Linked DNA regions of Homo sapiens: region 2 is linked to region 1. The links are contacts of gene promoters, found by promoter capture Hi-C in human tissues and cell types (Jung and others, 2019). All regions are on one chromosome and are shown on one strand. Each heading gives the region's core, a stretch centred on a gene start or on the middle of the fragment in contact. The rest is flanking DNA. Distances are from core to core; before and after follow the strand shown.

Region 1 (6,188 bases), core at 2,195-4,694:
ATTGCCTGGACATGTGGCTCATGCCTGTAATCCCAACACTTTGGGAGGCCAAGACAGGAAGATCACTTGAGACCAGCAGTTAGAGACCAGCCTGGGCAATACAGTGAGACCCCAATCACTAAAAAAAGAAAAAAAAAATTAGCTGGGCATGGTAGTGCACATGTGTGGTCCCAGCTATTTAGGAGGCTGAGGCAGGAGGATAACTTGGGCCCAGGAGGTTAAGGCTGCAGTGAGCCAAGATTGCACCACTGCACTCCTGCCTGTGTGACACAGCAAGATCCTGTCTGTTAAAAAAAAAAAAAAAAAAAAAAGGAATCACAGGTCTGATAAGTTGTTATGCTTTCTTTCTTTTTTCTTTTCTTTTTTTTTTTTTTGAGACAGAGTCTCAAAAGTGCAGTGGCACGATCTCCGCTCACCACAACCTCTGCCTCCCAGGTTCAAGCAACTCTCCTGCCTCAGCCTCCTGAGTAGCTGGGACTACAGGCGTACACCACCACGCCTAGCTAATTTTTGTATTTTTAGTAGAGACAGGGTTTCACTATGTTGGCCAGGATGGTCTGCAACCCCTGACCTCGTGATCCGCCCACCTCAGACTCCCAAAGTGCTGGGGTTACAGGCGTGAGCCACCTAGCCCGGCCCTGTTATGCTCTTTCTAATGAATACTGAAACTATAAAGATGGCCAGCTATGGTGGCTCACACCTGTAATCCCAGCACTTTGGGAGGCCGAGGCTTGTGGATCATTTGAGGTCAGGAGTGCAAGACTAGCCTGGCCAATATGATGAAACCCTGTCTCTACTAAAAATATGAAAATTAGCCAAGTGTGGTGGTACATGCCTATAATCCCAGCTACTTGGGAAGCTGAGGCAGGAGAATCACTTGAACCCAGGAGGCGGAGGTTGCAGTGAGCTGAGATTTTGCCACTACACTCCACCCTAGGCGACAGAGTGAGACTCCATCTCAAAAAAAACTGTAAAAATAAACATTATAATAAAAAGCTGTCAGCCATTGATGTACCTTTACCACCCATTGGTGATAATTGTACCACATTTTGGGGAAACATTGTTTTAACTAAAGAGTGTTATTGTTTTGTTTTTAGAGATAGGGTCTGGCTCTGCCGCCCAGGCTGGAGTGCAATGGCATGATTGTAGCTCACTGCAACCTTGAACTCCTGGCTTCAAACAATCCTCCCACCTCAGCCTCCCGAGTAGTGGGGACTACAGGTGCATGCCACCATGCCTAGCTAATTACTTTTAAATTTTTAATAGAGATAGGGTCTTGCTATGTTGCCCAGGCTGATCTCTAGCTCTTGAGCTCAAGTGATCCTCCTGCCTCAGCCTCCAAAATGCTAGGATTACAGGCGTAGGCCACCGTGCCCAGCCAAAGGTGGACAATAAATTGTAGAAAATAATGGATAACCTTCTGAGCAAAGGAAAATGTAAGATACAAGAATTAAATAGCATATTAGAAGAGAGTGAATGACAAATGAAGAGAAAGGTACACTAACACCTCAGTTACCTGCTAGAGAGAGACATTCATCCAGCCTAGCCAGTCATTTCCTTCTCCTTCCTCCCACCACCTCTTTCCTTCTGAACCTCTGGTTCAGATGCAGAGTCCTTAGCCTGTAACTCTGGATCGTTCAACCCATCAGCACATAAGAAACTTGCTCTTCTGAGAATGAAAATAAGCAGCAACACAATTTCCTTAACAACCAAGGATCTTATAGAGGCAAGAACTAGAAGTAAGAAGAAAACACATACTAGGGACAGAAGACATGGACTGGAGGTCTTGGGCCAATTAGGTGACCTTATTCCTATCTCAGAGCCTCTCCAACTCATGGCTTCCTCAACTCATTCATTTAACAAATGTTTTCTAAAGCAATGACCGTGTACCAAGAGTTGCCTCATGCACTCGGGCTGCAGCAGTGAATAAAACAGGAGAGGCCCTGCCCTCAGAGATCTTGTGTCCTAGTGAGAGTGACAGGCAATACATACTAAATAAATAAGCAGTGTAACTTTAGGTGGTGAGCAGTGCTATGAAAGAAATTAAACAAATGATAAAGACAAATTGGGGAGGAGGCATCCTGTGAAGAGGTTGGTCAGGGGAGGGCTCCTGGGGGAAGTAACATTTGAGCTGAGACCTGAATGTACTAGGAAGGGCCAGCCAGGAGATAAGCCAGGGAAAGAAGGTTCCAGACAGAGGGACAAGCAAGCCTTGCGGTGGGACCGCTCTCGGGGCTGGCTGCCAATCCAGGAAAACAGCACTGGGTATGCAGTTGTACTAGGTGAATGGTTTTGACACAGCACACCAAGCAGTCCTACAGTTCCCTGGTGGTGTCTCAAGGGCGGAGGGGCCAAGGACAGAGACTCTGCCAGACTCACGCCACCCTGCCCAAAACACACACAGAGAACGAGAGAGAGAGAGAGAGAGAGAGACGCGTGCACATACTCTGCTTCAACAAAACAGCTCTTCTTTAATCCGAAGTGTATATTGGGTGGCTGCTTAAGATTTTGTTCGAGGACCAGGTTCAGGGATCAGAAATTCTTGATCTCAAAAGTCCTTTTCCACACTTTGTTTGATTCTCTGCAATGTTACACAGCCTCAGCAGTGGTCATAGAAGGGTTCGTTCTATTCTATCCATTGGCAAGGAGTCACAGAGTGCAGCTCCCAGCAATCTGGCTCTCCTCTCACCGTAACATCCCACCCTTTCCCCTCCAGCAGTGGACTGGAACCTCTGATGCCTTCCAAGCCCATCCCAGCTACAGAGGGACACACATCTCTGCCTCTTCCTAGGAGATTAGACTGATTTCCTTTCCTTGCACTGTCCAAATGAGACGCTTTCTGTCCTACACAGTAGAGCTTTGTGAAGACAGCCGAGAAACGGCTCAAGTTTTTTCCAACCTGTAAAATGCAAAGTTGGCCAGCTGCCTCTCTTCCTAGCCTCAAAACTCATATATTTCCTGTCTCCCCGGCAGCTCTAAGAGAAGTCTCTACTGTCCTGGGGTTTGGGGAAAGCACTGCTCAGAATGTGAAATCATTTTCTGGTAATACGGATCTAATTAGCTCTTTGACTGACAAGAGGAAGCAGAGGCCAAAAGGGAGTTAACCAATCTGTTTTTCAGATATTTCAAAACAAGTGAAGAACCAGATAGGGAAACAGAGAGAAAGAGAAAATAAAGAGACAAAGCCTAGGGAGCATTTGGAGAAGGGAGTGAGTAAGAAGAGAACGGGGAGGGAGAATATCAAGTGACTAAAGTATCAATCCTCTGTTCTTCCAGCTTCACCTCTACTCCCGGTCTCCCCTCTGCTCTCTTCCAGAGAGAACTTACTTGAAGGTCGATGTTTTCTCTTGCTGATTCCATCTCGCTGCCCTCAAGTCCCTTCACACGCACCGGGTGCCGGGAACAGACTGCGTGGGCTCCTCCAGGCTCCGCCGTCTGAGTCTCTGCTGCTTTCTTCGGGTGGGAGAGAGCACACAGCTGGCGGGACAGACCTGCCATTCATCCCTCTGATGTGGGATGCCCGTCTTGGCTGCAGCCTCTGGGGGAGGTGTGCACCTGCACACACGTGTGAGTGTATGTGTGTGCACATGTGTGTGCTCCAGGAGGTGGCACATGGCACACTGATAGGTGACCTTTTGAGTTGGTAGTGACAGCATCATTTTCACCAGTGGCTCCAGTGACCTTCCAGTCCCAGCGGAGCCATCTGAGGTCACCCAGCCTGCTTTGAGCTAGTAGCTTTATGACTGGCAAAGAAATCCTGCATGTTTATCAAGCAAATTGAAAAACAGCCTGAGGACAACGCTATCTGACTTCACCGCTGGGTCCAGTCCCCAGTCGCCACGGGTGGAGTGACCTCCAGCACAGTCTCAATACTGAGGCAGAGGGATTTCCGTTGTTCTTTGCTTTGTTCCCTATATCCCTAAAAGTTTTTAAAAAAATTGTAGTTTACCTAATAGGCTCCAAAGCATAGGCTTTGTTCTGCAAAGTGAGTGAACAATACGTTTTTACTGACGGATTGTTTGATTCCTTCAACTCCTCCCTTGATTAGCCATAGAGGGAGCAGGGAGTAGTTGTACCTTCGAAGCTTGTTTATGCAAACAGTGGTATTCTCCCTACTTTTAAAATAAAATTACCAGGAGGGAGTCTTTTTTTAGAAAGTTTTTTTTTTCCTCTCCTGTTTACCTTAGAGCCCAAAACTCTTCTGGCTTGTTCCTGAAGCAAGGTTTAGACACAAGCTTGTGCAGGTGTGGGTGTGGGTATGTCTGTAGACGTGCATGGCAGGGTGTTAACCTGTAATCCAATTCAGGGCTTGAAGAGGTGCGGGCAGGAGGAAGACAGGCAGAGTCAACACGTTTACCCTCACCACATTCAAATGTAAAAAAAAAAAAAGGCGATTTCTTCAGTTCTATGAAATGCCTTTATAAGTTCCCATCCCTCTGGACAGTGGTGCGAGGGAGGGTTGGATGATTGGATGGGGGCCATATTTTAGTCTAATCTATGAAGCATAGTTGGATTTAATCATTTAAATGGTAAACAGTCCACTTTAGACACAATGCTCAGTCTTTCGGATTTGCAGAAGATGGCACCTAGGTGCACAGGAGGGCGGGGTGGGGACGGTTCTTGCATCTATCCTGTGGCCTCTCCATCTCGGCTCCTTTCTGTTCTGGAGCTGCTGGGCCCACGGGCCCGCCCGAATTGCTGACTGCTGAGGAGACACAGGTCCTGCTCCTGGGTCTTCTGCTGGCCTTGGTGGCTGATGTCTGATATTAGGCCAGAGTCACTCATGGGTGATTCTCTTTCTGCCTTTGAGATCCAGTGTTCTCCCTTGCTGTCTGCGCTACCTTGGCTCGTGGCAATGTGGACCATCCTGAGACCTGGCTTTGACTTGTATGTGCCCCCATCCCACTGTATCCGCTCAGTGGCCCACATCTCTAAGATAAGCCCCTCGAAATTTTCCTGTGAGATGCTTGACCAGTGCTCCTGAGCCCCCTTAGGCACATGGGGACTGAGGGCTGCTGACGAAGGGCAGGGGAAAGGCAAGCTCAGCCCCACTTCCAGCAGAGTTTGCTCTGATGTGGCTGCTCCAACTGACACAGGGCAGTCTGCGAGGTGATCTCCTTCCACATTCCTGAATGGAAATGAGACCTGGAACCCACTCTTCTCAGCACTCCTTAAAAAGTCTACCAGTAATATCTATCACCCCACCGCTCATAATAATACCACTATGTATCAAGCACTATTCTAAGCACTTTTTTTTTTTTGAGATGGAGTCTCGCTCTGTTGCACAAGCTGGAGTGCAGTGGCGCCATCTCGGCTCACTGCAACTTCTGCCTCCTGGGTTCAAACGATTCTCCTGCCTCAGCCTCCCGAGTAGCTGAGATTACTTCTTCCCATAGTCCCCTTAATCTAGAATCAGAAAATGTACGCTTTGTCTTCTTTTTTTTTTTTTTTTTCCTGTTTGGCTGGGATGTATCTGATGTAGAACTCTATGACAACAATTCAAAGGGAAATGAAGAAATTTAGAAAATCCTCTCTCTCAAGAAAACCTGGTTGTCAAAAATATTGTCTTGGCTGGGCAGCATGGCTCATACCTGTGATCCCAGCACTTCGGGAGGCCAAAGCCGGAGGATCTCTTGAGCCCAGGAGTTCAAGACCAGCTTGAGCAACATAGTGAGATCCCATCTGTAGAAGAACTTTTTGGCTGGACATGGTGGCTCACACCTGTAATCCCAGCATTGTGGGAAGTAGAGGCAGGAGGTCACTTGAGCCCAGGGGTTCAAGACCAGCCTGGGAAACACAGTGAGATCCTGTCTCTACAAAAAAAAAATTTTTTTTTAATTTAGCTAGATGTGGCAGCTTGCAGCACCTGTAGTCCCAGGTACTTGGGAGGCTGAGGTGGGAGGATTGCTTGAGCCTGGGAGCTGAAGGCTGCAGTGAGCTATGATCATGACACTGTACTCCAGCCTGAGTTGACAAAGCAAGACCATGTCTTAAAAAAAAAAAAAAACTTTCTGGAAAACCTTATTTCGGATGCCAGAAGCAAAATATTAACTATTTATTTCTCTTTGCACTCCTGTTGTGAAAATCCTCATTATCTTTTAAATAATATGGATACATCTGGCTGAATAGAGGGAAACAGGAACAAAAAAATGCAAAAGAGAAAAGTACTCGAATATATTTCAAAAAAT
Region 2 (6,188 bases), core at 1,220-3,719, 900 kb after region 1:
GGCCAATATACGCAATATAGGCAAAACCTATTTATAGTAATGTCCCAAACACCATCCAAATTCTTTTGCAGTATAATACTAAACTGTTGCTGATTAAATCTTACTGAAGTCTGTAGACCATAAGCTGGGTTTGAATTTTTTTAAAAAGTAAATTTTCTCTGTAGCAATACATTTAATGGAATCTGATCTATATTACTTCTGCCAAGAAGGAATTCAGAATTACCAATTGGAGTTAATGTGGTACAAAGAACTAGAAACCTCTCATTCTCAGGAAATGGACAGGGCAGGGGGAGTCCTTAATGAAAACACTGTGTCAGTAATTTTTGTGGCTTAAGATCACCACGTGTAGTTCCATGGGTTCAGAATAGATTCTCAGAGATGGGGGTTATAGTAGAAAGAGCAAAGGATTAAGCATCAGGAACCAGATTTACCCCTAGTCCCGTAACCCTGGGTAATTTACCTGCCTTCTTTGTGTTCCCATTTCCTCACCTATAGGAATGGAGGGATTGCGCAGGGTGCAGTGGCTCGTGCCTGTAACCCCAGCACTGCTGGGGGACCAAGGTGGGAAGATTGCTTGAGGCCAGAAGTTCAAGGCTGCAGTGAGTTATGATAGTGCCCCTGCACTCCAGCCTGGGTGACAGGGCAACACCTTGTTTAAAAACATAAAAATAGGCCAGGCACGGTGGCTCATGCCTGTAATCCCAGCACTTTGGGAGGCCAAGGTGGGTGGATCACCTGAGGTCAGGAGTTGGAGACCAGCTTGGCCAACAGGGCGAAACCCTGTCTCTACTAAAAATACAAAAATTAGCCGGATGGGGTGGCGTGTGCCTATAATCCCAGCTACACAGGATGCTGAGGCACGAGAATCACTTGAACCCAGAAGGTGGAGGTTGCAGTGAGCGGGGATTGTGCCACTGCACTCCAGGCTGGGTGACAAGAGTCAAATTCCGTCTCAAAAATAAATAAATAAATAATACAAATAAAAACAAACAAAAAACAATAAAAATTGAGGAATTGGGCTAGATAAGTGGTTTTCGAGACAGAACTTTGAGACAGTTCTTACTTAGGGGCCAGTGGAGATCTCCTCTCCTACCCAATTTTCAACTACATAAATGTTATTTGTTTTGCTTCAACATATGATTTTAGTGGAAAAATAGAGTTCTCCTTCTTTAAAAACATTTTTTTTAAAAAACCACTGGACTAGCTAATTCCTACTCCTAAACCTTTGTAATTCAATATAAGGTCTACCCATCAAATTGTTTAGACTCCTGGATGATACTCATGTTTTTAGGAAGGGTTCCTACACCCAAAGCCCAGGTCAGCCAGTTTCTGCGTGTAGGCAAGTTACTGCGTTAGGACTCTTGTACTAGTGTACAATCTAGAAGTTGCATTGGGGCAGCAGGGAGAGAATTCTTATCAGTGAGTGTTTAGCCTCGTTGTACACAGCAGTTACCAGAACAATTAAGAGAGACAAAAGTTCTCCAACACCTTGATCATCTCTGGTAGACAGCTTTGGAAGACACACATACCGTCTACTTCTTCGGACTTCCTAAGCTGTGGAATAGGGATTCAGTGTCTGTGGTATGAAACGGGGTCTGAGAGTTTCATCCCATCAAACTGACAGGGTAATTTTGAGATGGGGCAACAGGAATTGTAATACTGGGGCAATATTTGCTTGTCATCAGTTTGACATCTTCTTGACATGTGCTCTTTTTGACCCCAGTGATTCTTCATTGATCCCCATGTAAGGTGTCCCATTCCCCCATCCACACTGACTCACCACCAGGAATTGTTGTGTGTTCTGAAGAGGCTCAACCAGTTTCATTTGCCTTCTGTTCAGCTTCCCTCCATCTCTTATCCCCAGTCCTCTGTAAATCCTTACTCCTTCATTAAGTATTCCCTGATTCATGGAAGTGACATGATCCGGTTTAGTTTACAAAACCAGGAAATTATTCCTCTGGACCAGAGAGAGAGAGAGAGAACAAGAAACAACAACAAAAAACCCAAATGGAATCTATAAAGGGAAGACAGATATATTCTACATTGTTCCCATTAAAATGGAAACCCCGTGGGGAGAGGAAATGCATCTGTGGAATGTAGAGTGGATTTCTTTCACATATGGGCACTCAGTAAACATTATTAATGAATGATAATGATTTGTCAGTGATTGAAATTGTTTCAGGGCAGGAACAGGGAATGAAATACGTAGACATTCCTCTATCTCATGGGGAAACTGCTAGGCAGGTCATCCAGATGTATTTTCTTTGGGGAGTTGTGAATTCCTTGTGTGTCCAGCTATCACTATGTAATGATATTTTACGTTCTCAGTAATACATATCATCATTATATATATCATCATCTTATATGTATATATATAATACCCCTGTACATAGATATATGTACACATGTATATATTTATATGTATAAAATTAAAGTGTGGAACTTGTAGTTTCCTGTCGAAGAAGCTTGCAAATTGCAATTCCATCCTAGCAAGTAAAAAGCTGAACAGACTGAAAAAGCAAGTCTCCTTGGATCCATAAAGGAAGCGAGGTCTCAGAGCAAACCACTGTCCCCAGAACTGGAGAAACCGGCAGGAGAATGCAGCTTCACAAGGTACCGGAGCAGAAGCCCTGGGCAGCAGCCTCTGCCCGAGCAGTGACAGGCAGGGAAACCTGAGCTGTCATCACCAGAGTGCCGGAGGCGCAGAGCGGGCAAGTCTGGAAGTTAAAGATCCACGGGAACCATGTCGTTGTCCCCTCTCCCTCACCTTCTGGAGCTTCCCCGAGTTCTCACAGTGAATAATGGAGAAAAATCCCCTCGTGCCTCCTGCAGTGGGAAGAAGAAAAAGGACCATTTTGAAAGAGACTGCCGCACTCTGCTCTTCCTAACGAGGTCGCCTCCCCTAACCCCACCGCGGCTTTATCAGCGCCTAACTGACCTGGGGGAAGGGAAACTCCCACGCCAGCCCACTCTAGCCATCTCCCGGCTCACTTAAGGTGGGGGCGGGAGGGAGGACGGAGACTCATTTGTGAATGTTCAGCTGAGGGGTGCAAGCTCACCAAAACTCTGAGGCCTGATTGTAGACTATAGAGTAGACCTTCCCACCGCACACTCACGGCCTCTTTACAGCAGCTGCCTTTACCCGGTCACAGCCACTATCAAGAAAAAGATATAAGACATACTAAAGGGCAAATAGGGCCTGGCACGGTGGCTGACGCCTGTAATCCCAGCACTTTGGGAGGTCGAAGCGGGCGGATCACCTGAGGTCAGGAGTTCGAGACCAGCCTGGCCAATATGGCAAAACCCCATCTCTACTAAAAATAAAAATTAAAAAAAAGGAAAAGAAAGAAAAGAAAAATTAGCTGGGCGTGGTGGCAAGCACCTGTAATCCCAGCTGCTCAGGAGGCTGAGGCAAGAGAACCGCTTGAACCGGGAGGCAGAGGTTGCAGTGAGCCAAGATCGCGCCACTGTACTGCAGCCTGGGCGACAGAGTGGTACTCTGTCTCAAAAATAATAATAATAATAAAATGAAATAAGAATCAAATAACACATGTTGAAGGGACAGAGCAAGCTTCACAACCAGACTCAGAGACAGCAGGGATGCTGGAATTACCAGGCGGGAAATTGAAAGCAGCTCTGATTAATGTGAGGGGCTGTAATGGATAAAGTAGGCAGCATGCAGGAACAGGTGCGCAATGAAAGCAGGGAGATGGGAATCTAAGAAAAAACCAAATGAAGTGACAGAGAGCAAAGCACGGTGACGGAAATGAAGAATGCCGCTGATGGGCTTTGATGGATTTGTGGACTGGACACAGCTGAGGAGAGGATCTCTGAGCATAAGGTTATCTCAATAGAAACCTCCACATGTGAAAAGGGAAAAGAAAACCCACCCACACGCACACGCGCGCACACACGTGCGCACACACACAGAACAGAATATCCAAGAACTGTGGGACATCTACAAAAGGTGTAGCATGTGTAATGGGAATACCAGGAGGAGGAGAAAGAAGAAATACTTGAAATGGTAATGACAGATTTCTCCAAATTAATGTCAGACACTAAACCACAGATCCAGGAATCTCAGAGAATCAGGACAAATGCCAGAAAAACTACACCTGGGCATATCATTTTCAAACTGCAGAAAATCAAAGATAAAGAAAAAGTCCTGGAAGGGGCCAGAGTGAAAAAAACACATTACCTGTAGAGGAGCAAAGGGAAGAAATGCACCTGACTTATCCTCAGAAACCAGGTGAGCAAGGAGAGAGTGGAGTGAGATGTGAGGGTGGAGAGAGAAAACCCACCAGCCTAGAACTCTGAACCCTGCACAATTATCCTTTAAAAGTAAAGGAGAATAAAGACTTTTTCAGACAAACAAAACTTCAGGGAATTTGTTGCCAGTAGATCTGCCTTGCAAGAAATGTTACAAGAAATTCTTTAGAGAGAAAGAAAATGCTATAGGTCAGAAACTTAGATCTACATAAAGAGGGCAGAGAAGGAATAAGTGAAAGCAAAATAATAACTTATTTTTCTTATTCTTAATCTAACAGATAACTGTTCAAAGTAATAACAACAATGTATTCAATTATGTACCCTTAGATATATACTTATGTGTAAGGGAAATGAGTGACAACAATATTACAAGGGATGAGGGGAGGAATTAGGATTATGGTGTTGTTATAAGAAACTCATACTACCTGTGAAACCCCCCTCTACTAAAAATACAAAAATTAGCCTGGCGTGGTGGCGGGCGCCTGTAATCCCAGCTACTCGCGAGGCTGAGGCAAGAGAATCACTTGAACCCAGGAGGTGGAGGTTGCAGTGAGCCGAGATCACGCCATTGCCCTCCAGCCTGGGTGACAGAGACTCCATCTCAAAAAACAAAAAAAGATTGTCATAGTGGGTCAAAAAATAAGACCCAGCTCTGTGTTGTCTACAAAAAACCCACTTCAGATATAAATTGTGCTTCTGTCAGGTCACTTTAGGCTGACCAGCAAAAGGCACAGTCCTGAGACATGGAGAATAACCCAGAATAATTATCTTTAATAATATAAGCATAATTATAATCTCACAAGTATTTTCATAGGATTGAGATATAAAGAATATATTGAAGCTTTTACAGAACAAAAAGGAAAAGCTGGTGCACCTTTATCTCTGTACATGCAAATTTATATAATCAATGCTTGTTTTGCTTCTCTTTTTTCTCCTTTTCATTTTCCTTTCCAGGTTGAGGAAAGGTAGTGGTTGTTTGTGAAGTGGTCATTTATTTTATCCACTTAATTTCTGATGTTTTCTAATTCTCTCTCTCTCTCTCCCTCTCCTTCCCATTCCCTCTCCTTTTCACCAGGCTTCTCCTCTTCCTTCTTCCCTCTTCAACCCCACGCTCTCATATGCTAAATAAGAAACCACTTCGTTCTTTTTTTTTTTTTTTTTGTCTGAGACGGAGTCTCGCTCTGTCACCCAGGCTAGAGTGCAGTGCCGCAATCTCGGCTCACTGCAAGCTCCGCTTCCCGGGTTCACGCCATTCTCCTGCCTCAGCCTCCTGAGTAGCTGGGATTACAGGCGCCCGCCACCACGCCCGGCTAATTTTTTGTGTTTTTAGTAGAGATGGGGTTTCACCGTGTTAGCCAGGATGGTCTCGATCTCCTGAACTTGTGATCCGCCCGCCTCGGCCTCCCAGAGTGCTGGGATTACAGGCGTGAGCCACCGCTCCCGGCACCACTTGGTTCTTTATGGCTGTTGAGCATAGCTCATCCTCGAAGTTTGTTTAATGCTCATTTTATGCTGTCCCACAGAAAAGACTATTGCCAAAGAGCAGAGCCACTTTTGTTGAAGGCTGTGCCACTCACCCAGAGTCCCCTGTGCAAAGGAAGGGAGGCTCACACAGAGCCAAGGGAGGGCAGGGCGCACCACATGCCCACTGCAGAGCCAGCATCCCCCTCGAGAGCTGCACTTCTGCCCTCAGGCCCACTGAGCTCCTTCTGCAAGGAAGCTTTTCAGACAAGAAGGAGGCTTTTATGAGGTTCAGATTCTTCCTAAGAGAACGTTTTGCTGTTGTTGCATGGAAGAGGGGTTTTTCCCCTCTGGTCGAAACTCCGCCCAGCTTTGTCTAGTGCGGTGTCCTGTCCACACTAGACCTGTTGTCCTAGTTTGTGTTCCTCCAGAAGCCCACCCTGAAGCAGTGACTCAAA

The links. The method cuts DNA at HindIII sites, captures the fragments that hold promoters and counts their contacts. A contact is called where the count stands out against the background at its distance.
Region 2: a contact is called between a fragment that was not itself captured here and the fragment with the promoter of NINJ2 in region 1, in 1 of the 25 tissues and cell types used here (dorsolateral prefrontal cortex).

The regions. Positions count from the first base shown.
Region 1 is chr12:660,001-666,188 of GRCh38, forward strand. It overlaps NINJ2 (ninjurin 2), which reads right to left and starts at 3,445. Exons shown (of 4, transcript NM_016533.6): 1 at 3,328-3,445. The coding sequence starts at 3,360. The HindIII fragment of the contact is 21,671 bases long and covers 1-5,336 here.
Region 2 is chr12:1,563,985-1,570,172 of GRCh38, forward strand. It overlaps FBXL14 (F-box and leucine rich repeat protein 14), which reads right to left. Exons shown (of 2, transcript NM_152441.3): 2 at 2,009-2,826. The coding sequence ends at 2,764. Among named protein-coding and RNA genes, the nearest start is that of FBXL14, 28 kb to the right of the region's middle. The HindIII fragment of the contact is 3,741 bases long and covers 600-4,340 here.